Linked DNA regions of Homo sapiens: region 2 is linked to region 1. The links are contacts of gene promoters, found by promoter capture Hi-C in blood cells and fetal thymus (Javierre and others, 2016). All regions are on one chromosome and are shown on one strand. The core of a region is centred on a gene start or on the middle of the fragment in contact, and the rest is flanking DNA. Distances in the headings are between cores, read along the strand shown. Region 1 holds the start of ARF5 (ARF GTPase 5). Region 2 overlaps SND1 (staphylococcal nuclease and tudor domain containing 1).

Region 1 (7,883 bases), core at 3,501-6,000:
CTCTGCCAGTGGGTAGGACATCTGGCTGGGCAGATAGAGCTCCTGCAAGGGTATCTTTCCCCTCCAAAGAATCTCTGAGTTATAGTCTCTTGGACTCACTTCCTGCAAAGCTTGAGGAGAAAACCCAGCTCAGAACCTGGAAAAGTGACATGAAAGAAAAACAAAGGCAAAAACAAGTGATGATGAGTTCTGCCTAAGCCTGGCTAGGATCCAAGGGAAAATGGGCAGTCGATCACACTTGGGGAATAAGCCACACCCCTGGTTCCTTTTTCTGAGTCAGGGTCTTGCTCTGCTAGCCAGGTTGGAGTGCATCTCAGTTGACTGCAGCCTTGATCTCCCAAGCTCAAGCGATCCTCCCGCCTCAGCCTCCTGAGGTGCTGGGACCACAGGTGTCCATCTCCATGCCCAGGTAATTTTTTATTTTTGTTTTTTGTAGAGATGGGGTCTTGCCATGTTGCCCAGGCTGGTCTTTAACTTCTGGGCTCAAGCAATCCTCCTACCTCAGCCTCCCAAAGTGCTAGGATTACAGGCATGAGCCACAGTGCCCAGCCACCCGTGGTTCCTTATACCTGCTTTCCTATTCCCCATAGGAGGGGTCTTCCCAAGTAGCAAGAGTCTCAGTGGTGTGCAGCAAGGAACTACAAGCCCCAGACCCCACCGATGTTTTATAAAATAAGGGTAATAGACTATTAGTGGCAGAATTCCCTGGGTAATTTTATTTATTTATTTAATTTATTTATTTATTTTGAGACGGAGTCTCACCCTGTCACCCAGGCTGGAGTGCAGTGGCACGATCTCAGCTCACTGCAAGCTCCGCCTCCCAGGTTCACACCATTCTCCTGCCTCAGCCTCCTGAGTAGCTGGGGCTACAGGTGCCTGCCACCACGCCTGGATAATTTTTTGTATTTTTTTTTTTCTAGTAGAGATGGGGTTTCACCGTGGTCTCGATCTTCTGACCTCGTGATCCGCCTGCCTCAGCCTCCCAGAGTGCTGGGATTACAAGCGTGAGCCACTGCGCCCGGCCTCCTCTGGGTAATTTTAAAGATGCATATTGTTGGGCATCAGACTAGTCCTGATGAATCACATTTTCTGAAATGTACCTCAGGATTCGTATTATTAACGCACATTCTCTCCCCCTCTAATTTTAATGTGTAAGGCAAACATTAAGAACGGCTCTAAGTAGCTACGAGAATGATGGGAAACAATTACGTGGTTCATGGAACTATGAAGGGAGATCCTGTAATCTTCAGCAAAGGCTCCTTGGAGCTGGGAAGGAATGAGATTTGCACCACTGTAAACCCTACAGTATTTCCAGCCCAAGAATAAGGAGGGAGAAGCTGAGCTGAGGGTATGTGTGGGTGGGGTTGCCCTGCAGCCTTAGCTGCTTTGATCCTCTCCCACGTTGTCTCTTGGTACCCAGTAACCTAGCCTCTCCTTTGCAGGCTACAGACAACACCGTGTACAAACCACAGCAAATTTATTACTCAAGATCCAGTGCCACATTATAGCACCACCCGAAGCCCTCACCTTCCCCCTCCCAACCTGGCCCCTAGAGTACACCCAAAACAGAAAAAAAAAAGGAAACCCAGATCCCTGCTCCTCCTCTGGAAGAGGGGGCCTTGGCCAGGAAGCCCCTTCCATAGGTCCCAGCAGGCAGGAGAGTGGACCCCTCTGTGCCCAGAGAGCAAGGCTCCAGGCTCCAACAACAGAGAGAACATGCAGGCAGGAGCAGGAGCAGAGGCCTGTGGCTATGGGGGAGGAAAAGTGGGAGGAAAGGGCACTGCCTGAGGAGTCCGGGAGTCTGGTCATCCCGGGGATGCACGCAGGAGCTTCCGGGCATCAGGGGCCTGCCCCTGGCTGGTTAGCGCTTTGACAGCTCGTGGGACAGCCAGTCCAGACCATCGTACAGACCTGTGCCTTGGGTGGCACAGGTGGCCTGGACATACCACTGTGGGGAAAAGGAAAGAAAGAGGTCAGCAACCAGGAACAAAAGGAATGCCTTTATATCTCTGTCCCAGCCTGCAGCTTCCCTCAAGAGGCAGGATTCAGCACCAGGTGGGCAGGACCCCTACCGTGCGGCTGCGTAAGTGCTGTAGCCCCAGCTTGTCAGTCAGCTCGCTCACGGGCATGGCGTTGGGCATGTCCTGCTTGTTGGCAAATACCAGCAGCACTGCATCCCGCAGCTCGTCCTCCTGCAGCTGAGAGAGGAGAAGAGAAGGTGGGACCCAGGCTGCGTCTCCTCTACTGTGTTGGGGAATTCCCTTTCTACCTCCTAGCATCTTGATTGGAAAAAAAAAGTATTGTGCAGTCTGCCGTTGAAGACAAGACATAGTTGTAAATGAGCTTGAGGTGACCTGAGCCCATAAGTCCAGAAAAGAAAGACCTTTTCCTAATTTGAGTACTTGCCTAGGCAAAATGACAACATTTCCAAATGGAAAAGGCAGGAATGTAAAATGTTTCTCTTTGCCACATATAAGTCCCATCTCTCCCACAACTTCTCAGACTCAGATGTAAAGACATGAGAATGCGGCCGGGCGCAGTGGCTCACTCCTGTAATCCCAGCACTTTGGGAGACCAAGACGGGTGGATCACCTGAGGTTGGGGGTTCAAGACCAGCCTGGCCAACATGGTGAAACCCCGTCTCTACTAAAAATACAAAAATTAACTGGGCATGGCAGCGGGCGCCTGTAATCCCAGCTACTTGGGAGGCTGAGGCAGGAGAATTGCTTGAACCCGGGAGACGGAGGTTGCAGTGAGCCGAGATTGCACCATTGCACTCCAGCCTGGGCAACAACAGCAAAACTCCCATTTCAAAAAAAAAAAAAGACAAGACAATGCACAGAAAAAGTGAAAAAGTCACTCCCATCCAAAACAGGGTGAGATACACAATGTGTCTGTCCACAAAGAAAAACTTATATTCCTGGTCTTCAATGCCTGTTGGGGGCTCCCTGACTTCTATACCACTACAGAGATCACTCTGTCCCCAAGCTGAGGGCTCAGTTCCCAGGGCTCTGGGTACTCACCATCTTCTGGAGTTCATCAGCAGATTCTTGGACCCGCTCCCGGTCATTACTGTCCACCACAAAGATGAGGCCCTGGGCAGGAAGGAAGGAAGAAAGGAGAAGCAATCACTTCTGCCTGGGACATACCGTAGTGTGGCCCTTTCTGTTTTCTTCCCATTTGTAATTGTGTCAATCCTTCTCATCTAGTAAACTCTACAGAAGTTTACAGAACTCTATAGAAGCTCTACAGGAGTCATGGCACAAACTAGAGACCCCACTGCAAAGAGGAAGTAGTTTATCCAAAGATGTGCAAGGAAATAAAGACATGTTATGAGGGCTAAATCAGGCAGCCTGGTCCCAGAATCCTGCTTCTAAAGAGAAGTCCAAGCTGGGGAAGACTAAGGTGAGTTCTGAAGAGTGAGTAGGGGATAGCCAAACAGAAGGGGTAGAAGTGGGGAAGGGTTTTTTCCTTGGCCTGGGGGCCCAGCCTAGGCCAACAATTCTGTTCTCCCAGCCCTAACACCTTTTCCCGTGGGGTTAGAAAGTCCCCTCCCAACACTCCACCTGAGTGTTCTGGAAGTAGTGCCGCCACAGAGGCCGAATCTTGTCCTGGCCTCCCACGTCCCAGACTGTGAAACAGATGTTCTTATATTCCACTGTTTCTACATTGAAGCCTGCAGATAATTGGAAAAAAAAGATGAGAAAACTCCTGAAAGAAAGGAACTCACTAAAACTACTTAGATTTCAGCAGGGACACAAAACCAGAAGGCAATGATCAAGGCCCAGGGGAACAGAACCCCAGAACTGGCGGTCAACAGGGCGGGGCTAGGTCACATCCACCCTGCCTCCGGTATCCACGTAGAGATACCCTGACCCACTTCTCAAATAGCTGTATCTGGTGTCAGGGTCAGCTCCAGAAAAGTGGCAGAACTGGGAGCAGACCCCGCGAGGGCCCGCCGCGGCGCTCCCGCTCCCTGCTTCGTCCCCGGGCTCACCTATGGTTGGGATGGTGGTGACAATCTCCCCCAACTTCAGTTTGTACAGGATTGTGGTCTTGCCAGCCGCATCCAAGCCAACTGCAACGGAAAGGGGCACAGGGATGGAGATGGGAGCGAGGGAGCCCCCTAGAGACCAGGGAAAGGGAGAGGCCACAACAGCTGATGGTGACTGGGGCGGAGAGCGGGAGCGCCTCCAGGTGCGCGTCGTTATCTACCTTTGAGGCCTGGAGGGCAGTCGGGTGGCGTGAGCCAACTCCAAAGAGGGCGCGGAGCGGGAGAGGACTGGGAGGCAAGGGGCACGGGAGGTAGGCCGCGCTCGTTTTAAAAGTCGTCTCCAAGGGCGGAATCCTCCCTTCTTACCAGCCGGGCTGGGGCGGAGGGAGCTTCACCCCACCCAGGCCCGCAGCTCCGGGTGTCAGGCCCCGGGGTCGGCGATGCAGACCGGGACCCGCCCGAGAGCAGAGGCCCCGGGGCGTTATGAGGTGGGTGACTCGGGGCCAGAGACCCAGGTGAGCGGGGCTGGAGGGACGCGGGGGCGGAAGGGCTGCGCCGGGGCCGGCGCCCCGGTCCGGGCCGCGCGCTCGATCTGCCTCACCCATGAGAATCCGCATCTGCTTCTTCCCGAAGATCCGCGAAAAGAGCGCGGACACGGTGAGGCCCATGGCGGGGCCCGGGGAGGGGCGCGGGCACCGACGCGGGGTGCGGGCTGGAACTGGCCGGCCGCGGGGGGATGGGGCGCAGCAGCAGCAGGAGGAGGCTCCGCCGCCGCCTCCGCGCGTCGCTGCCCTCCCGACGTCACCGCGGGCCCGCCCCCGTCCGGGCCCCGCCCCCGGCTCTCGGCCCCGCCTCCCCCGGCTCTGGCTCCTAGGGGAGCTGAAGCTCCGCGAGTTGCCGCTGCTGGCCTGGGTCCCGTGCGGCCCTTACTTGGGAACGGGTCTAGGTCTCTAACGCGCCTGCCAGGCCTGTGGCCGCCGAACCGGCAGCCCGAGCGCGGCTGAGGAAAGGATTCATCGCTCCGCAGCGGCCCCTGCCCCCATTTTCAGTGGCCGGCCGCTGGGCTTTGGTTTGTTGCGTCCAGGCCCCTAGGGGCTCCGGTTTTAGCCCTTGGGAACCAGTAGCACTGAACGTGTGCACCACTCTCCTTTGGGGAGTGGAAGCTGCGATTAGGGGTCTTGGTCCTCCCTTTACTGCCTCATCTTCCACCGAGGGACTTGCGCGTAGTAGGTGGTCGTGTGAAGAGTGCGCGGGAGGTAGGGGAAGGTGCCCGAGTGCTAGCTAGCTTCCATGGTTCCTCAAAACGCCTACTTCCTAATTCCCAATCCGCAGAACCAGTGTAAGATTCCCGGCCTTGGGCGGCGGGGTCACAGACCCACTCCTGGGCTGTTGGAGAAGTCCACCTTCGTTTGGATCGCCCTGCGGGCCCCGCCTCTCAGTCCAGGCGCTGGCCGCTTTGCCGAAGTTCCTCACTTTGCCACAGACTTGTGGACCTGGCTTATTCTTGCACATCCATTCAGGATTTTGTGAAGATCTTGACTCCGTAGACCCAAAGAGCTTCACATGTCATTTCCCTGCCTCATTTTAACATCTGAGAGGAGAATAGCAAAATAGGAATGAAATTCTTCTGCGGTGGAGACTGGCTCATTGCCAGGCATTATTAGGCCTAACAAATGCTTGTTCAGTTGAACTGGACTGATAGATTCTCAATGGAGCGAGGGTAGGTGTTATGTCTACTCTGGATTCCCAGTGGGCTTCTAGGATCAATTGTTTATGGACTCGAGGTAAACTGAGCTGGGAATAAAAAAACCTTCACTCATTCATTTGCTTTTTCAGCAGATATTTACTGAGCACCCACCACTTGCCAGCACGTGATTTCAGGCTTTAGTTCAAATCTTAATTCTGCCATTTCTTGAGGATTTGGCTTCAGCACTCCTCATAACTCTTCCGTTATTTCATCATCTATAAAATGAGACTTGTTCTAACTTAAGGGGTTATGGTGAATCTTAAAATGATTTGATAATGTGACTGAATGTTATGTATAATACAGCTTGATGTTATTTGGGCCACTGAGAAACGGGGTCTGAACAGACCTCCAGGGCCTGCCCCATCCTGATCTGCAAAGTCTGTAACAAGGACAGACTTTGGGAAACAGGTATGAGTGAGTGAATGACTTTCCTTTTCTCTTCAGTCATAGACTTGCATCCCTAAGAAGGCTTTTACGAGGCTGAAGAGTACATTTTAGAGAGTTCCAATATAATAACAGAACTAGTGTTCACCAAGTTAGGTCAATTCTACATTTAGCTCTTTTATCAGCCTCTTTGCTTCCATCTCTGTTGTCACTACCTTCTGTTCCCCATGACTGAAAGTCTCCTCACAGGTTTCCTGCCCCTTGTTCCCTCCAACATGTCATACAAGTCTTGATGACATCCCACTTTTCAGATTAAAATCCATTAGGGCCTTACTATAACCCAAGATAAAATTTAAATGCCATAAGTTGGGTCCCTACCTATTGTGCCAGCCCCTCTGTTGTCACCTCCTTCACATACCCTAAGCTACTGAATGCTTTCTGGGTGAGTCAAACTCCGATACCCTACAGGTCTTTGCATTTTTTTCCACCTGCCTGGAATGCTAGTTTCCCTGATCTCTGGTTAGGTGGACAATCACGACTCATCCTTCAAATCCCAAAGTATTATTCCCAAGAGCCTTCCATGCCTCACCTAGACAGGCCTCTTTCCTCTTAACTTTCATACCACTTTGAATATACCCAGACATACTGGTGTGATAGCAGGACATATTTGTATGTCTGGTTCCTCACTAGATTGCGAGCTCCCTGAGGGCAAGGTCGTGTCTCTTAATGGTGTTACCATCTGGCACAGCACGTGATACGTTGAGAATCAGACTGATTAGAACTCCTAAACTTACTAGCTGTGTGACCTTGGGCATGTTACGTATAACCTTTCTGCCTCATGTTTTCATATCTGTAAAATAGTGCTAATGAGTATAGTGCTTACAAGAATTACTGTAAAGACTAAATAGCAAAACTCTTGTGAGCTCCTGGTATATAGCTGGCACTCAGGATAGACATGGCTATAGAGTGCCCTCCGTAAATATTTGTGGAATCAACTCAGCAGAACTAAGGAAGGGTACTATTAGGCTGTATGCCTACTAGGTACCAAGCACTGTGCTATAGAGGACTGCAGTTTTCGTGGTCTAAATGGGAGTCTTAATTGTTGCCTTTTAGGGACCATGGGTCCTGAGCTCCCAAATCGTTGGATGCGTCGTTCACCTGGGTGTTTGGTAAGAATGCAGTGCGACGTTGCTCTGTCGCTCGCTGAGCGTAGCCCGAGGTCAAGCTTGGGCGCTCTCACAAAACCGGTGCCACTCTGGTGTCTTCGACTTTGCTGGCTTCGCCTTTCCCAAGCCTGTTTTTTGCCGCTCGCGGCCCCACTGCGTTCTCAACAGGCCGCGCCCACCCACCGGCCGACTTGGCCCCGCCTACCTTGGGCCCACTGGGGGCGGAGCCTGCGGCGCCTCGCTGACGTCACTTCCAGCGGACACGGAAGCGCCGTTGTCGGCAGGCAGCTTTAGTTAGGATGTCGTGATGGGACCGAGCTCAGCGTAACCCTCTGGCCGACGTGGGCCGAGGGGGCCGGCCCGGGCTGCTGTGGCCCAGACGAGCGGAGAGTGCGGAGCGGCTTCTGGGCCAGCGCTAACGAGCCCTGGCAGTGCGCACCTCTGGTGCCAGTGTCGCCCCGCCTCCGGGGTAGAATCCGCCCCAGCCCTCCGGGCCTGGGACCGGGCGGCCGCTTTCGCCAGTCCGTCCGGCCGTTCCGCATTAGGTCCGGGATAACTAGGTGGAGTAGGTGTGCGGCCCGCCGCCGGACAG
Region 2 (7,883 bases), core at 874-3,373, 480 kb before region 1:
AGGACAGGAGAGGCAGAAAGACGCGGGCAGGAAATGCATCAGCGCAAGGGCAGTGAGTGACAATCCCGCAGAAGGAGTGGCCAGAAGGGTGTGGGCTGTGGCTGAACCCCAGAGCCCTCAAGGAATCTCCACGGGCCTCAAGGCCTCCTCCACTGACTGTCTCATCCCGAGGACCCAGGATAACAGACCTAGCACTGACTGCTTTTCTAAAAGGGCAGCCTCAGGATCGTGGCCCTCGTGGTAGCTGATCTGCTCCCACATCGTGAAGGCCACTGCCCAGGATAAATTCCTTCTTTGATTTTCTCCTGACCTCTTTCTTTCCCTGCTAAAGGGGCCTATAAATGTCTTTGCTGCCAAATGTAAAAACTTGTATTAATTTAAATGCCTTCAAGCTCGATTAAGCAATAAAATGAATGTCTAAATACCTGGGAATTCTCGAGGTCGGAGCTGGAGCTAGTGACAGAAGGTTAGAAGGGATGAGGGATACTGGGTGACATGCCTCCCCAGAAGGACAAGGAGGTGGTCTGGGTGTGCAGAGAGAAGGTAGCGGGGAGGAAAACAGGCAGGGCCCGAGAGGCAGGACCCTCGCTTCCTCCCATCCTTGAATACCCTCTGCGTCCTTGAGGCCCACATTTGATCCTTCAAGAGGAAATGCAGGTTCAATGACAACTGAAGTTGGAGTGTGGTATAGAAGGGGATATGTGGAGTCTATTAGAGTTATTAACGAAAAAGAGATAATGGAGAACATATAGGTCCAGTCCATGTTGATTCTGTAGGTGGCACTGGAGAAGTGTAGCTATTAAGGGACAGAGCTGAGAGCAGAATCCAGGTTTCCCCAATGCCTTCTCTACACTGCCTCCTGGCAGAAAAGACCCTGCCCCTCCCTAATACCCCCTTTCCACAGCCTTCTGTTTCAGGAGCAGCCCTTCCTTCCACTGCCATACCTCTGCCCCCTCCACCATCCAGGACCGTGGGACCCTGCAGCTCACTAGTAGAGTCTGGGCGTAAGTGCTGGCCCCAATTCTGGGCTGGGCTGACCCAGTGCCTGAATTCACGACAGAGTCCAGTGTCTGTGGGTGTTAAAACCAGTTTCTCCTATCTCTAATTTTGGCAACTAACCTGCTGAAGGACCTACTCTTGTAGGAGAGAAGGGCAGGTGGGCAAAATCTGAGGTTGCTCAGGTTTCAACACCTTGGATCCACCTTGCAAATGCCCAGGGCGCTGGAACAAAGGAGAAGCTTGGCCACTGGAAGACTGAGCGCCTCCTCCAGTGGGAGGCCAGGAATGGGGAACAGACTGTCATGCCTGCAGGGGCTGGGGGAGGTGGCGGGGGTAGTGTGGTAGGGGTGGACAAGACCTGTGAGGGGCAAAATGATACATGAGAAGACTGTCTCTTGCTCATCTTAACTTGCCAAGCTTTATCAAACATGCTAAGCTCAAGAAGCAGCAGGTCCTAGAGGAATTCTGGGGAAGCTGAAGGAAGAACAGAGAGGTTGCTTGCCTTGTGTTTAGGGGTTCCTGGACACATGTCTGGGCAAAAGCAAATGAGGCTGGTACAGTTCCCAGCCAACACTGAGCCCAGGCCCACATCAGTTTCCGCATTCCCTGACCTCTCGTCTTCCACAATTTTAGTAGCCAAGTGTCCTTTCCCTAAAACCAAGGATGTCTGCCCTGCTTGGACACAAGGCCTCTCTCCAGGCCTGGCAGGCCACTAGACAGCTTGTGGTGGGCCAGTGTGGCTCTTAGCACTGGGTTGCTGGGGTTGGTGCAAGAATGTCAGAGATACGCTGCAGAGGCAACCAACCAGGCACGCACAGTTGCTGTCTATCCTGTGAGGTGCCAATGCTCAGACCCCAACCCACATGGCAAACCCCACATTCACACCTCGCTCTCTGAGGCTGCAATCCACATGCTCGCCTTTCTCCAGGGCTTACATGAGAAGGAACCCAGCAATGAGCAGCCACACCTGGGGCCAACACTGCAGGGTGCAGCCGGGCTCTCCTGCGCAGGTGAGCACCAGCTTCACACTTAACCAGCCTGTCGCCTGCAATCGATATGCTAACTTGGGCTTGACAAGTCCCTGGGCCCAGCCAGCCGCAGATGAAAGAAATCTCTGGCCTTGGGCACAGTGCTGCCACCGAATCCATCCTGGGTTGTAGATGGCGATAAAGCTGTCGCCCATGGGGCTCTGTTCCCTTTTATTACAGCTGCCACAGCCACAGTAATTTCTCAATCAAACAAAGGCACTCGGGGAAGGTGGGCTGGCTCCTCTCTAGCCAAACCCCATGCGGTGTCTCTCCTTCTCCACAAACCTCAGCCTGGACGAGGCTGTGGAATTCGGTGTGACGCTTCTTGAACTCTGGGAGAATTACGGAGATTGAAAGCAGAGGTTTAAGCAGGTTGTATGTGTGTGATCATCCTTTGATGTTTCTCTTTTACATTGACTGCCAGGAAGTTATGACTTAACTGTAACATTATGTGGGTCTATGTTTGTACAAGTATTATTTCTTTGTTCAACTCAAGGATTCAAATTTCTCTGACATCTTCTCTTAATTAAAAGATAGACACAGAGATATATACATACAGTTCAATTTTGTTATTTATGGTAATTTTGTTCTATAGAGAGAATTTGCAAATATTGAACCATTGCTCCTAGGGGAAATGCAGGTTTGGGTTCCTGTGAGCCTCTGGTCACAATATTTTCATCAAATCAATAAATAACCTTGTTCTGTGTTTCTGTTTAAAGACACCTTGTCTAATATGTGTTGCTGGCTCATTAACACTGAACTCATGGCCAACAGCACAATGACTTATGCCTGAATGAAGCTTATCTAACACATGTATCTTCTCCATAAGGCACATCCTAGTATTTCTGCACTCAGGAACACTAGACAGCACTTCAGCTCTATGCTGGGGGCCATTTAAGACTGTGAAACCACCAACAAAAAGCATGAAAAATGCAATAACATGATGCTAAATAGATTGTGAGAAGGACACTTGTTTATATCATCAGAGCTGAAACAAGAAGGCAGAGTGTTGTCTTGTTCTACCCTGTTCCACCTAAAATGGAAATGTGCCCCGCCAGATGACTCAATTTTTTTTGTCACTCTGTGCATGTCCACAAATGACTGCAAAAGTACCATGAGTATTGATTTTGGGGTTACAAAAATAGATTTTGGTGAATTTGCAAATATGTAACCGGTGAATAATGAAGATCGACTGTATACTGTATAGACACATAGAGTTAATTCCCACAAGTTGCCTCAAACTGGAGACTATAAAGAGACATGTCTCACAAGTTGCCTCAAACAGAAGACACGTTAGGGGAGGCTCATTCCTGTAAATAGACAAGAAATTTCTTCTTGTCCAACTGGCTACTGCAAGCATTAAATGAGATCCTACTGGTGGAGTGTTGTGTAATTTGCAAACTGCTATAACATAGCCACTCATCTCTTGGGCATCTTGGAGTGTTTCAGGAAGAGCTCTGGACTCAATAGCTTCCACAGGAGGCCTCCTATAATGGCAGGTGACTTTAGGCCTTAGGTGACTTAGGTGACTACCACAGGCTGCTAGAAGGCTGGGAGCAGGCTTCGTATGAGAGCATGCACTGACGTGCACATGTGGGTGGATATGGCCTTGAGGGCACCAGAGTATGTGTGTGCATGTACACAAGCAGCATGGGCGAGGGACAGATGAGGGCTCTCCTCTCGATTCCCCTCTACTTAGTGCCCATGCTGAAGCTGAGACCTAGGAAGACACATGGTTCTGGGGGAGGGGGGTACCTCCCGAGAGACTATAAGAAGGGGCAGGTGGTGCCACACTGAGGAAGGGGCTTGGTGGTAACTGGTTAAGAAGCGAACAGCCTAGAGGCTTGAAGGTCAATGTGACCTTCAGATGTTGACAGCCATTGCAGTCTGCCTCACTTGCAGCCCTGCTGGTCTGCCAGCATCTCTTGCTCTCTGCTCTTGATGCTGGCAGAGTGGGTGGGGATTTTGAGGTTGCTGAATACCTGGACTGCACCTTTGCCCGCTTCAATGCCACTTTCTCCGGGAAGGCTTCCCTGATCCCTGGCCTACCATGAATCACCCTCTGAATGCCTATGGGTTCACCCTCCCTTTGGCACTTGTGGGGCAGTGTACAGCATGGAGGTTATAAGTGTGGACTCTGGCTCCAGACTATCTAGACCTGCATGAATTCTGGGGTGCCACTTAAGTTCTCCGTGCCTCTATTTACTGTAAAACTGGGATTGCAACATCATCTACCTCAAGGATGTTATGATTAAATGAACTAATATAAATATGTTAAGCACTTAGAAAAGTGCTTAGCACATAAATGCTTCAACACGATCATCATAAATTATTTACTTCCTGGTAGGGGCAGTTATTTCATTTCTAAATGTCTTCATTCTCCAAGTAGACTGTCAGCTCCATGGGGAAGGAAGCTTGTTCCAGACTGTGAAATTTCTCCAGAGCTGAGCACACTGACTGGCCCATGAGGTGGCAGAAAGAGCATGGATTCTGGAGTCAGATATCAACTCCCAGTCCTAGCTGTGAATTTTTGGGTAATTCACTTGACCTCTCTTAGACTGTTTCCTTAATGGTAAAATGAGGAGGGGTCCTGTGCACTGAATGAGGTAACAAAACTGCTTCCTCTTCCCTTCAACAAATGCCAGTGATGCCCTGGTGGGATGGTTACATTCAGCAGCTGTCCTGCTTTGCTGAGCTGTATACCTCTGATGAGAAGGGTCTTCTCATCAGAAATGGCCAATCCCTGCTTAATGAGCTCCTTTATTCTCCCTGACTCTGAAAGCTTTGGGTTTCTTACACCCGGGGAGTCCTCCCATGAAATACCGAGTGAAGGTAAGGCAAGTGGGGTTGATAGGATGAGCTCAAGTGTGTGACTGTCCCTGTACCACCTGCACAGATCCCTTTCTCTTCAGTGGAGGTCTTTCCCCATCACAGGGCCAAAGCGGTGGGTGCTGCCAGCCAGCCATGCCCTGCAGGAGAGCAGCTCGACGCTGGACCTGGCCTGACTGTGGGCTAGAGCAGCCAGTGGGCCCTGCTGCCTCACAGTGGGACGTGTCCTCCTGCTCCCAAGCACATTAATATGCCACTAATGAAATTGTTCTGGCTTATTTACCAAATTAATACAAACGGCACAGGCTGTTAATTTCCATGTCTCCTAATTACCGAGGAAGAGCTCCCCATGCCCAGGCAACACACATACCTCAGTGATCACCCAGCCGAGCTGTGGTCTCACCCTTCCCAGGGATGAGGAAGGGGAGAAGGGGGAGGAGAAAAGAAGAGCATGGAGCAGCCCCCAGCTCCGTGGCTGAAATCAAACATGGAGGAAGGGGGTGGCCAGGAACTTGTTTCATTTCCTGCGGCCCCTTTCTGAGCAGTCTCAGTGCCCTGGGCTCCAGAAATATACACTTGGTCCCTGTCCCCACCCCAAACTGTTCCTCTTCTCCCCATTGTCTGGATTCTGTCAGCTCCTTAAAACAGAAACTACTTCAGTCAAACAGGCAGTGGGGACCAAGTCCTTCTCCTTCTCTAAGCAGTGAGGCATATTCTTGGCCTGGGGTACAATGCAGGGCTGAGGGGTCTGGAGAAAGGAAGAGAAGTGAAAGCCAGGCAATGGATGATGGCTTTAGAAATGTCAACATTCTCAACTTCTTCTAGCCCTCTGCAATTAGACTTCAGATTCTGAAATCTTTCCTAAAGAAAGAAGGGTTTGGGGTGGGGGGAGGGAGAGAGTGAGCATGTGCATGCATGTGGTAAGTGTGGGGAAGATTATTTAAGAACTCAGCTTTCAAACCACGGAGGAAATTCTGACTGCCCTGGGGGTTGATTTAGCTGTGTCTGTCCTTAACTCGCCTGGAGCCTGCAGCCAAGCTGGATGCCTAGTGCTTCCAAGTAGGCGCAAAGCTGAAGATCCAGGTCCCTCTCCTAAAGCCTCCTCCAGGTCATGGTGAAGTTGCGGGGAGGGTGAGGCGGGAGAAGGTGCACTGGAGGCTGCTTCTGGTAAGGCTGGCTTAAATAAGGGAGCCGAGGGCACTGGGGGCAAAATAATTAAGAAATGGAGACTAGAGAAAGACAGCAGGGGGATGCACATTCCCCTTGATGACTCAGGGCACCCAAAGGAGAGCGTTCACACAGGGGATTTACTAGCAATGGGGGGAGGACAGGGAGACCCCACACACATACAAGCCTTTCCCTTTTTACTTTCTGGGAGGATGGAGAAGAGATACTGTCTTCCCCAAGTGCACAGGCGTTACTGCAGTGCACAATGCCTGAGGCAGTACAGAAAATTACTGAGCCTCAGCCAACCTCAGAGCCCTGGGTTGCGAGGCTGTAGGTTGCCTGAAAACAGTTGTGGAGGATGCTCCCGTACCAAGGAAGGTGGGCTGCCTCAAGCAGGACAGGCAGGTCCCAAGTAGAAAAGAGCCCAGCACAGGGCGCCACTGCCCTGAGGCATCTGGGAAGGAAGTCACTGCACAAAGTGGGGTGCTGGCTGTAAGTTCTTCCAGGTAGCAGGGTGGGGCTGCTCAGGGCTACCTGTGGGAAGGTGACATCAGAGTCCCCACAGACAGGCTTTAGAGGCAGAATTCTCCATCATTTCCATGTGCTGTCTGGCCATATTCCTGCTTTCAATATTCCTAAAGCAACCAGCAACAATCACAGCAAGCGGCCTGGATGGGAAGAAGGAGCTGAGGAGCAGAGAAAGGCCCTGGGCTAGAACTGTGATCCAGGTGCCAATCCTGCCTCTTATGGGCTGGGCACACTGCACCTCTCTTTGGGCTTAGTTTCTCCATCTGGGAAATGAGAGTTGAACAAAGTTTCCAAGGTTCTCTCTGCTCTGCATTCTCTGAGGTCAGAGAATGGGGGCAGCAAAGCTGACAGACTGTGCCTGCAAGCCAACAGGAGAGATGAAAAGCAACAGTTCCACAGGAGAGAAGGGCAAGCAGGGAAGCCCCATTTGCTAACGATCAAGTCCTGTAGGAGAACTTGCAGGGGGGCGCGGGAAATGGAGAGACGGGAACTGAATAATGACTCGGAGCCCAAGGTACTCCTGCCTCTTCCCAACCCACTCATCCTGGCTGCAGCTTTTTTCAAGAATGTGAGTAGTGTTCTGGAGTAACCAGCATGTAGCTTGGGTCCTTTCCTGCCATGCAGTGGTAGCCTTGCCCAAGGCTGGGTTTTCTACCATCACTGATGCTGCGTGAAGGCTGTAGCATGCTGCCACAGCCAGAACTGTGAACTTGAAGAGATACCTCACCTTAACACAGTAACAGTTTAACACAGCCAGCTCATCCCCTCCACTCCCGGTCACACACAGCCACACCGACTTCTTTCAGAGATGATGAACATTAACAATGCAATTAATAAGGCGATGCTGTGGAAGGCGAGAGGCTGTGCCTATGCAATACCTCCTGGGTCTCGTTACCATCTGCAACCGTGGGGAGTGGGCTGGCTAGAGGCAGGCAGCAGCACGGATTTTCCATGTGCTACTGTGGCAATGTGGTTCTGATCCCCACTGACGCCTCTGCTCCTAATCCCCCATCACCTCCAGACCAGGTAACTCTTTCAAGCGCAGCCCACAGAGTGGATTGCTTTTCTAGAAAACCTCTTTTCTGGCATTGGAGTGCTAGGAATGCCTGGAAATCAGGCCTGGGCTGGCACACCAGCAAGAGGGGCCAAGAGGCTCCTGAAAAGAAAAGGCCTGTGCTGTGGGTGAGCTGGCTCTAGAAGCTCAGGGTGGCTTTCTCTCCCGCCTGGAATGCCTTTTCCCTACCTCAGGGATGAGGGGTGGGATGGTAGGGGTAGGGGGGCAGCTTCGGTCCTGCCTGAGGCAGTGAGGCAGCAGCCACTGCCATCAGCATC

Evidence for each region. The method cuts DNA at HindIII sites, captures the fragments that hold promoters and counts their contacts. A CHiCAGO score of 5 or more calls a contact.
Region 2: a fragment that was not itself captured here is called in contact with the fragment with the promoter of ARF5 in region 1 in 2 of 17 cell types (fetal thymus and M2 macrophages); the score reaches 6.5 in fetal thymus.

Annotation. Positions count from the first base shown.
Region 1 is chr7:127,585,278-127,593,160 of GRCh38, reverse strand. ARF5 (ARF GTPase 5) reads right to left here and starts at 4,750. Exons shown (of 6, transcript NM_001662.4): 1 at 4,596-4,750; 2 at 3,998-4,078; 3 at 3,567-3,676; 4 at 3,024-3,095; 5 at 2,073-2,198; 6 at 1,461-1,948. The coding sequence starts at 4,662. The coding sequence ends at 1,862. It overlaps LOC105375490 (a long non-coding RNA gene), which reads left to right and starts at 3,315. Exons shown (of 5, transcript XR_007060511.1): 1 at 3,315-3,405. GCC1 (GRIP and coiled-coil domain containing 1) reads left to right here and starts at 7,565. Exons shown (of 2, transcript NM_024523.6): 1 at 7,565-7,883. It overlaps LOC105375489 (a long non-coding RNA gene), which reads left to right and starts at 921. Exons shown (of 3, transcript XR_007060513.1): 1 at 921-1,032; 2 at 1,157-1,348; 3 at 3,210-3,292. RefSeq lists enhancers at 3,424-4,049, 4,050-4,676, 4,677-5,302, 5,303-5,929, 7,447-7,496 and 1 more and a silencer at 4,424-4,913. The HindIII fragment of the contact is 7,240 bases long and covers 113-7,352 here.
Region 2 is chr7:128,066,120-128,074,002 of GRCh38, reverse strand. All of the region lies in intron 16 of SND1 (staphylococcal nuclease and tudor domain containing 1), which reads right to left. Among named protein-coding and RNA genes, the nearest start is that of MIR593, 12 kb to the left of the region's middle. RefSeq lists an enhancer at 7,148-7,648. The HindIII fragment of the contact is 1,410 bases long and covers 1,419-2,828 here.